Regions from separate parts of the Homo sapiens genome. Here all the other regions are linked to region 2. The links are contacts of gene promoters, found by promoter capture Hi-C in blood cells and fetal thymus (Javierre and others, 2016). All regions are on one chromosome and are shown on one strand. The core of a region is centred on a gene start or on the middle of the fragment in contact, and the rest is flanking DNA. Distances in the headings are between cores, read along the strand shown.

Region 1 (2,857 bases), core at 193-2,692, 280 kb before region 2:
AGGAAAGGACCCTGTTGTAAAACCATGTTGGAGAAAAGATCGGACAGATCCATTCCCCTTTAATTGAGAAAGGGCTTCGAAAATACTCCCCTTTCTGCGTAATACAAGACGATAGAAACTGACTTCATTTAAGTAACTGAGCGAATGCACAAGCATCTGAGCACAGACGCATAAGCCTGTGTTATGTCTGCCTTTTATTTGTTTTCTCTGGAAATGTCTGCATTTAACATACATAACAAAATGCCTTCATCATGATCTGTTTGTCATTTAAAGAAAAAAGAAGCCCAAGATTTAGAAACTCAGTATAGAACAAAAAGCTTTTAACATAGCAGTTTTATTTAAAAACAAAACCAAACAAGAGCCTGGCTTCCTTGATGTGAGGTCATGTCACTGCCCTGGCCTGTTCTTCCTGTGTCCATCCCCGGACCCGCACCCCTGCGTGCTCCGAAGTTGTCATTGCCCACCCCACAGGGCCTCCCGGGCCTGAACTCTCAAATAGGTATTTGCTCTGTGGATGCAGAAGGAAAGAGCTCTCCCTTTAGAGAGAATCCAATTATCTGACCTCTTACAGCAAAGACCCATCTGGAGAATTTTAATCATTCCAGCAGAATGGAAGATTCAGTCACTCTTGGTTGATCTCTGTGACTATGCGTATTCATTTCCGTGATTATGCGGTTTTATTATCTCTTGTAGGTAAACAAGGATTCTGAGAGGTTCATTGCCAGTGCCCATGGGTCAAGCTCCCGATGGTCTAGGAGAGAATATTGTGTCTCCAGCCAAGCTGGGGATCTGCATCTTACCTCAAGGGGATTAAAGGGCACCCTTCACCTTAGTTCTTTGAGCCCCATTAACATCGTATATTATAATGATGAGCTGGATCAAACCCTAGGCCTGCACCATTCCCACAGGCCAGTGGTGCCATTTGCATTGAGCCTGCCCATCTTAACCCTTTGCCACCCAGGCCCTTCCCAGGGCATTTGTGCCAGGCTGAGTTAGCACGTGTCTTGTTGGCCCTGGGGTGAGTAGGAGTTGGTGGCTGTGGCCCAGAAAAGGCCTGGCTGGAGATGAGCAGTGTGGTGGGGGGAAGGGACGGAGACGGGTTGGGGAAGGGGTCAGTGAATATTTTCAGCAACTACCTGCCATCTTTGCTTCAGTTTTCCCATGGTGACCCTGGTTGATAGGTTTATCAGCCTCAGAGCCCTGATCCTGGCCTCAGTTTCCCTCTGGCTTCCTGCAGCTTTTCCCTCATGGCCTTCCTCTGGCTGAGGGGTAGCCATCTGTGCCTCTGCTTCTGGGCCCACCTGCTCTATGAGGGACAGTCCAAATCTCACCTCCCATCTCCCGAGACGTAGTCATCCTCCGGGAACTCATGGTGTAGGCAGAGCACAGAGTGACCTGTGCTTTGATGTGGGTATTAGAGAAACCACAGCCACCTGGTGGGTGTAGGAGGAGCAGAGAGAATTGGCAAGGGGATGGGGCAGCCTCCTGGAGGACGTGATGCTGAACTGAGCTGTGAAGGATGAATGGGAAACACCTGGAGGAAGAAGGGTGAATGGGAAACACCTGGAGGAAGAAGGGAGTGGGGAGGAGTTCCAAGCAGAAGGGACCGAGCCGCATGGACTGGGAATTCTAAGTGGCTGGATAGAAAGCGTCTGTCAAAGACGGTGACACGTTAGGCCAGAGAGATTTGGGGACCTGAAGGCCTCGAAGGTCTCTCTCTGTGTTACTTTCATGGGCGTGGAGTACAGATGTGTCTCAGAGCACCCCTACACTTGTGCAGTGCACAACTCAAATAACTGAGCAGGGTGACCCTGCCCCACTAAGGGAGATGAGCTTTATCTTGAGGGGAATGGGCAGCCTTCAGAGGGTTTGAAGCAGAAGATTGACATGGCTATAAATGTGAGTTTAAAAGATCACAGTGGCTGTGGAGCATGTGTTAGAGGAAGAAAAGGCGGAGGCAGGAAAGCAGTTGGGAGGAAGCCTTGTGAATGCAGGTGAGGCTTGTCAGGGCTGCTTTCAGGCAGTGCTGGGGAGAATGGAGGGGCGCATGCTGTGTGGGGCCCGCAGTGGCTTCTGTAGGAGCTTGAGAGTGACAGCACAAGGAATGAAGAAAATGTCCAATCCACTGTAAACATCTTCGGTGAGTAACAACGGGACTTGTAAAATCAGCTGCCATTGTTGATGCTTATGCCATAGAAACTTGCCAGGAGTTTTCTCCCCGACAGTTTCAATGATGCCTGCTGAATTATGTTGCTTGTCACTGAGAATATGAATACTTTAAGGCATTTCTTTGTTTCAGTAACTCTCCCCTGCTAATACTCAATACCTTTTCTCTGTTACGACTCAAAGAGATGTTCTTGACTCTGACCACCCACGTGCCAATTCAGTTCTGGAGAAGCAGAAAAACCTGAGTGCTGGAGATGGCGAAAGGTCTGTGTCCCTGGCGTGCCCAGGTCCACGTCTGCCTGCCCTCCTCCCTTCCCCAGTTGTTGCAGGGGGCTAAATGGTCTCAGCACTGCCCAAGCACCCACAGCAGAATCTGCTAGAGCCTGGTCCCGTAAGCTTCCCACCTAAGCTTAGTCTCCCAGTTCTAAGCTCAGCCCCCACCCTCAACCCCTCACAAAGGCAAATACCTCCCCTCTTCCCTCTCTCCCAAGACTACTCTGAAAACAAGCCCTTATACTTGGTCATCTATTGACAGCTATGCTTTGCATAAGAGAGAAGGATCTGGAATCCCTGGGCACAATTCAAGAGGCAGGGATGTGGCAGAGGGAGAAAGAGTGGAGAGGAAGAGAAGACCCAGTGAGAGGTGGGGAAGATGAAAAAGCTGGTAGCCAAGAAAGACAATTCCAAGGCT
Region 2 (3,228 bases), core at 196-2,695:
AACAGCAGCCAGCGTGACGACGGAGGTGGGGGCAGATTCAGCCCCAGGAGCCTTGGGGCACACTCCTTCTGCAGGAGCCTCTAGGCACCAAGTCAGGCAGACATTGGACAGTGCTCTCTGGGGAGGGCAGGAAGAGCCCCCCACCCCACCCCTCAGGGCCCACCACAGAGAAGGACGCAGCCCGAGTCCATCAGAATTCACACACACACACACACACACACACACACACACACACACAGTCGTGAGACAGAGGCAGCGCCACACACCCGAGAAGGGAAAGACTCAGAGAAGCGACACACTTGGGTCTGAAAAGCTCTTAAGGAGCTCCCTAAGCATCGAGGCCGCCCTCTCGGCCAGAATCAAACACTTTGAAGGTCTTTAATAGGGAACAAAGACCACGGACTTCCCATGTGCCATTTAAAGTGAAAGCTACAAACACAGAAAATGTGCATGAAGAAGCCCAACAGAGTTCTGACTGTCTGTGATTTCTACCCTGATGCTTCAAAAACCGATGTATAGATGGGCTCACCCGCATTTTTTGTGGCCCTGGTTTGCTGATACCCTAAGCACCTCCTTAAGCCCCACAGCTGGGCCGCTTTCCCCACCCTCGAGTTCTCAGAAGAAACAGAGGCTCGGTGGAAAAGAGCCCCTGGGGCTAGGGACCTCCCACTCCCGCCGAGATCCCGCGCGGCTGTTCCCAGAGCCTTAGCTGCGCTCGGCTCACCTGGGGTGCAGGTCCACCAGCAGCACCAGCGTCTGCATGGTGATCACGTCGATGCGCTTGCAATGGAAGCGGGCCACCTTGAGCACCTTGAGGTACGTGCAGCAGAGCACGACGAAGGAGAGCAGGAAGCTGAGAGCGTGGAAGGCGCCAGTGAAGACGGCGAAGCGCAGGCGCTCGTCTGGCCGCCGGCTGCACAGCGTGCACGAGGCGTACAGCTGGTGGAAGCCGAGCCAGGACAGGGCGAGCGCGGCGGCTGGGAAGGTGAGCGCGTGCAGCCACGTGTAGGCCACCATGAGCGCCGCGTCGCGGAGGCGCATCTTGGCCCGGTAGCTCAGCGGGAAGACCACGGCCACCCAGCGGTCGATGCTGAGCGCGGCCATGCTGAGCATGGAGTTGGCAGCCAGGAAGGTGTCGAGGAAGGCAGCCAGGCGGCACAGGCGGTCGCCCGCCGGCTGCCGCTGCGCCACGACGCCGGCCAGCGTGAGCGGCATGTTGACCACGGTGCACAGCAGGTTCCCGCACGTGAGGTTCAGGGTGAAGAGCGCCGGCGCCTGGCGGCGGATGTCCGCGCTGTGCAGCAGGCAGAGCAGCACCAGCGCGTTGGACAGCAGCGAGACGCCCATCGTGCCCACCAGTAGCCCCGCCAGGCCCGCGTCCCACGAGTTCATGGTGCGCGCCCCGCGCCGGCGCTCAGGGTCCGCAACCCGGCGCCGCCATGGCGCTGCCCGCGGCCGGCTCAGCCCCTCGGCGCCGCCGCCGCCCGGCGACCACCGGCCCCAGCCGCCATGGCTCCCAGGAGGGCGCGCGGCCACCCCGGAGCCTCAGGCGGCCTCCCGGGCAGGCGTCTGGGCGCGCAGCCACCCGGGAGCCCCGCGCCGCCTCACGGGCAGGCACCTGGCGCGCGGCAGTGAACCCTGGCCCCCAGCAGCACCTCTGGAGCCAGCGACTGAGCGTGCGGTAGAACCCGAAGCCTTTAGCGCCCCGGGATCCTGGGTTGCAGGCACCTGCGCCCCTGCTCCGCCTCTGCCTCTGCTTCCTCCCGCTCTCACCCCATGCCCGCGAGCTCTGTCTCCGCTCCGCTCCGCGCACCCTCCCGCTCTCTTGCTTTCTCTCTTCCTCCCTCTCTGCTCTCTGGCTCGCTCTCTCTCTCTCTGCTCTCCCCTCCACCTCTCTCCCTCTCCCCGCCCCCCGCGCTGTTCTCTCCGTCTGTCTCTCCCACCCCCAATTTTCTCCCCTCTCTTGTTCTTCCCCCTCCTCTTCTCTCTGTCTCTGGAATCTGGCTGCTTCTATCACAGAAATCCCCACTGGTGCACACACAGACACACTCGCGCACACACACTCACACTTACAGGCTCGGAGGGAACCAGCCCCGAAGGCTCCGGTGCAGGGTGATTGGCTCACTGTGGCTCCCTTCCCCCAACATCCTCCATCCCCCCGTGTGTGTCAAAGACAGGCTGAGTCAAGGAAATCTCTCTGAGAAAAGGAAGGGATGCCTGGACACCTTCACGCCCCAGTGCCACCTGTCCCCGCCTGCATGCTATCCTGGCAGACCTTGACGTGAGTGTCCCAGCCTGTCTGTCCCAAGAACAGCTGCTGCATGACTGAGGTTACTCGATTCTCAGTGCCTTCTTTCCCTCGCCCTACAGCCAGAGCTTCGGCTGAATCCTAAGCCTGCTGCAGGGACCCCGAGGCTCTCTGTAACATCCCCTGGGCATCTCTCCAGCTGGGAGATGCCTTTGCTGACCCTGACTGCTCCCACCTGGGCAAGCCAGGCTGTCCACAACCAGCCTAGACAGCTAACCCTAGTATGGTGGATACTCTGTTGTCCTGCTCCAAGTTCCAGCAGCTGCCTCCTGTAGCCCTGAAGCCACACACCCCTCTGCCCTGAGACTGGTGAGGCAGCACATTCTAGTTTATGAGGGACCTGCCTGATATAAGGTGCCAGAACTCTTCAGAAAATGGGGAGGGTGTCAGCTGGCAGGCATGGTCCAAGCAACAGAGACCCTGGACACAGGGGACCCCTGCCTCCCCTCAGCAAAGTGTGCAGGGACTGTGGCCCTTCGGTTCTCAACCAAGACTCTGTGGGGAAGGGGTGGGGATGGACAGGCAGGGGCAGCTCTCAGAACCCCTGCAGCCCCCTTCAACTCTGTGAGATGCTGCCCTGCAGTGACCCCCTGCACCATGTCAGCAACCTCAGATCCCTGTCCTGGACATAGAAAGCCCTGTTCTGGAGCCTCCTGGTGTGGCCAGTGGTGACTGGACATTCCTGGGCCTCAAGCCACTAGATAAAGTAAGCCAAGCAAGGACGTGGTGGACTCTACGCCCTGAAGGTAGAGACCTCATTATACTTAATTATCTCCTTCACATAGTACCAAGCACATTGTAGATGCTGTATTGTGCCATTTTTCTTTGCTGTAAAGGAATACCTGAGATTGGGTAATTGATGAAGAAAAGAGGTTGAATTGGCTCATGATTCTGCAAGGTATGCAATCATGGCTCCAACA
Region 3 (3,186 bases), core at 155-2,654, 260 kb before region 2:
GGAGTCATGGGGCTGCTGGAAGCAGCACACCCCAGTATGTTTTTCTCCTGAGGACAGCACCTCTGCCTCCAGTTCAGATGGTGCTGCGGGGAGCAAACAGAAAGTCTCAAAGAGTAACTTTGAAGCAGGGCTGTGGGATGGAGGTTTGAGCAAAAGCCCAGGAGAGGGGTCTGGGATTGCCTTACAGGGCCCACGTGTACTCAGGCATGAATTTTCCCAGGAGAGCTGAGAACTCAAGCTATCAAAGTGTGTCACTGTGAGGTGGCCTTTTCAGTGTGCTTCGTGTATCAGGTGTGAGAAAAGGACCAGGCTGGTGGCTGCGTGGAAGACAGGGGTGGAGGGGAGCCAGGTTCTTCAGGGGACAGAGATGGCCCAGGACGGGCTGGGCAGCCACGCCCACAGCAGATGCCTGGGAGGGGAGGTGGTGGGAACCTCTGTCACCTCTGCTTCAGCAGCAGCTCTGGGCACACCAGGGACGCCCTACCCAAGGAAGGAAGCATGACCCGGTGGTTGGAGCTGTGACCCCAGGCTTCTTGTCCCTTTCTGATTACAGATGGGGTCTTTGGCAGGGATCCAGAGCTGGCAGGGGCGGGCTGTGTATCTGTGTGGGTGCACACCCCGCTCTAAGACAGGACCTGCTTGCCTTTCTGGGCTACCACCAAAGGGGCAGCAGGTTCCTTGCAGGTAGCCATTTTAAAATAAGGCTTGCAGAAGGCAAAGGGACCCTTCCCAGCAGGAATAGTGGGGGTGAGGGTGGGTGGGGAGAAGCAGAAATGAGGACTCTGGCCAGAGCACCCACTCTACACTGGGATCCAAAAGGAAGTGAAACAGCGAGGGCAGGGAGAAAATGAGGTTTCTTCCATGGTGGCCTCCTGGCTTTCCTCCTCCTAGCCTTGTTTGTAGCTCCTCAGTTTATCTGGTCTCTTCTCAGATTCAGTTGCTGTTCTGCAATTTCACTTTTGTCAAAGACTGGAGGGACTCTGGCCCATAAAGCCATCAGTGGTGCTGACCAGGAAGCCCCCAGCTCCTAGAAGCTGAGTCAGCCTCATTCACTCCAGGGGAAGGATTGCCAAGGCACCAGTGCCCTCCCATGGGCCCGGGGTCTGGCCTCATGAATCCTCCGAAATTCATCCTCCCTGCACTCTGCCAGTGCCCCAGCCCATTGGCTCCTCAGGTCCCTAACTGTGGCCACCCAAAAGCAGTCCAGTTTGCATGCTGAGCCATCATCTGTCCTGGCACTGCCTGCCCCATCCTGTCACCTCTGACAGATCCTTTCTCTGATCTCCCAACAAGGTCTCAGATGTCTCCTGGCTTCAAACCTGCTGGCTTCTCCAGGATTCCCTGTCCTGGACTCCTGCCTAGGAGAGGTACCAGCTATAGGCCCCCTGTAGGAGTGCCCCCCTGCTCCACTCAGGACCACAGTCTTCCCAGGATCTTCTGGGGAAGCCCCATCTCCCAGTTACCACTGTTGTATAATAAACCACCTCAAACTTAGTGGCATAAACCAAGTATATTTTTCAACGGCCATGGATTTTGTGAACCAGTAATTTGGACAGAAGCCAGTGGGAATGGCTTATTCCTATCTCTGATGTCTGGGAAGCCTCAAAGGCTAGGGGACTAAATGGCTGTGGGATGGAGTCATCTGAAGGCTCATTCACTCATGTTGAACATTTGATGCTGGCTATTACCTGAGATCTCAGCCAGGGCTGTTAGCGGGAACACCCAGAGATAGCATCTCCGTGTGGCTGCTTGGGCTTCCTCACAGCATGGTGGCTAGCTTCCAAGCATGAATGTCCTAACAGAACAAAGCAGAATTTTCTGACCTTGTCTCAGAAGTCACATAGAGATAGGGATGTTTCTACCATCATCTGTTGGTCAACATAGGATCAAGGGGAGGGGAGAGAGATGCCACAATTTGATAGAGCAGTGTCAAGGCCATATTATAAGAAGAGCATGCTGTGGCCACATGTGTTGGTGTATTCTGCTTTGTTGAGACATAATTCACATAGAATAAAATTCACCAATTTTAAATTGCAGTCATTTAAAATCTGCATCTCAAAATACAGAAACAGTCCACCACTCCCAGGGGTCATCAGACCATCCACTCTGGCTGTCTTTGAAGAGTTTTTGGAGAGGTTTGGAACCAGCTATTGAGGTTGGCCAGGCCAGGTGTCCACGGACAATCTTTGTGGTGAATCAAAGCTCTCTGGTGGCCTCCCTTGTTCAGCACTCAAGAAACCAGTTTCCAAGCATGAATCTGTGGTCTATGAAGGTCTCGCAGAAGGCAGGCTGATAGGAGTACATGGTGGTGGAGGGGAGTGGGTGCCCCAGCCAGGAGGTTTGGCAGACAAGCTCTGTGCTGTGTGTTAATGTGGGCATTGACACTCATGAATAGGCCAGGAGGTGGGGGCACAGTTGAGTGTGTTAGTCCTCAGGGGTGTGCAGATCCTGGGTGGGCAAAGAGAATGGAAGTGCCTGGTACCTACCCCCAACACTGGGGGGTTCCTGGAGAAAATTCCCGAAAGGGAGATCCAGGGAAACGAGATTGGATATCTTGCTAACAAGTAGGTGGGAACTAAAACCACACAAATGTTGGAAGAAATTATGAACGTGACCCATTTGTACTCATCTGGGGGTAACAAAGCCTGGTGCAGTGATTGCACAAGCAGTTACTTCCAGAGTGGCAGGTGTCTGGCCAATGAGAATAGTTGTTAACAGCTACTGGGAGCTAATGAACCAGGTGCAGTTGGGAGCCCTAAGGCCGCATGAGCAACAGGTAAGCACCTGGACTCCAGAGCTCACTTGCTTGGTATAAATCCTGGCTCTGCCATTCATTTGCTGTGTGACCTTGGGCAAGGTGCGTTAGTCTCCTCATCTGTAAAGTGAGGTTGACATTAGCACTTGTAGGTCATGGGGAGGATTAAATGAGTTAAAGGCATGTGAGGTGCTTAGGATAGTGCCTGGCATGAGATAAGCCTATGTACGTTTTTACTCTCTGATTGTAAGAATTGGCTATTCTGATTCTCACATCAACTCAACAACAATGAGGCAGGTACTATTATCATGCCCACTTTATGGATGAGAACACTGAGGCACAGGGGCATTTTGCTTGTCTAGCATCACTGAAGGGTGGGACACAGGAGGCTGCCAGAGCAGAAGCCTCAAGGGAGGTAGAGAAAGAGGAGA

Evidence for each region. Contacts are between HindIII fragments. The CHiCAGO score rates a contact against its expected background, and 5 or more counts as called.
Region 1: a contact is called between a fragment that was not itself captured here and the fragment with the promoter of GPR26 in region 2, in 1 of 17 cell types (endothelial precursors). The highest score is 7.3, in endothelial precursors.
Region 3: a contact is called between a fragment that was not itself captured here and the fragment with the promoter of GPR26 in region 2, in 1 of 17 cell types (endothelial precursors). The highest score is 6.3, in endothelial precursors.

What each region holds. Positions count from the first base shown.
Region 1 is chr10:123,946,785-123,949,641 of GRCh38, reverse strand. No RefSeq gene overlaps it. Among named protein-coding and RNA genes, the nearest start is that of CPXM2, 56 kb to the right of the region's middle. RefSeq lists an enhancer at 533-1,213. The HindIII fragment of the contact is 2,245 bases long and covers 320-2,564 here.
Region 2 is chr10:123,664,572-123,667,799 of GRCh38, reverse strand. It overlaps GPR26 (G protein-coupled receptor 26), which reads right to left and starts at 1,445. Exons shown (of 3, transcript NM_153442.4): 1 at 725-1,445. The coding sequence starts at 1,392. RefSeq lists enhancers at 623-1,160, 1,161-1,699, 1,700-2,237. The HindIII fragment of the contact is 9,100 bases long and covers 1-3,228 here.
Region 3 is chr10:123,927,212-123,930,397 of GRCh38, reverse strand. It overlaps a transcript of CPXM2 not described here. Among named protein-coding and RNA genes, the nearest start is that of CPXM2, 37 kb to the right of the region's middle. RefSeq lists an enhancer at 2,987-3,186. The HindIII fragment of the contact is 4,757 bases long and covers 1-3,186 here.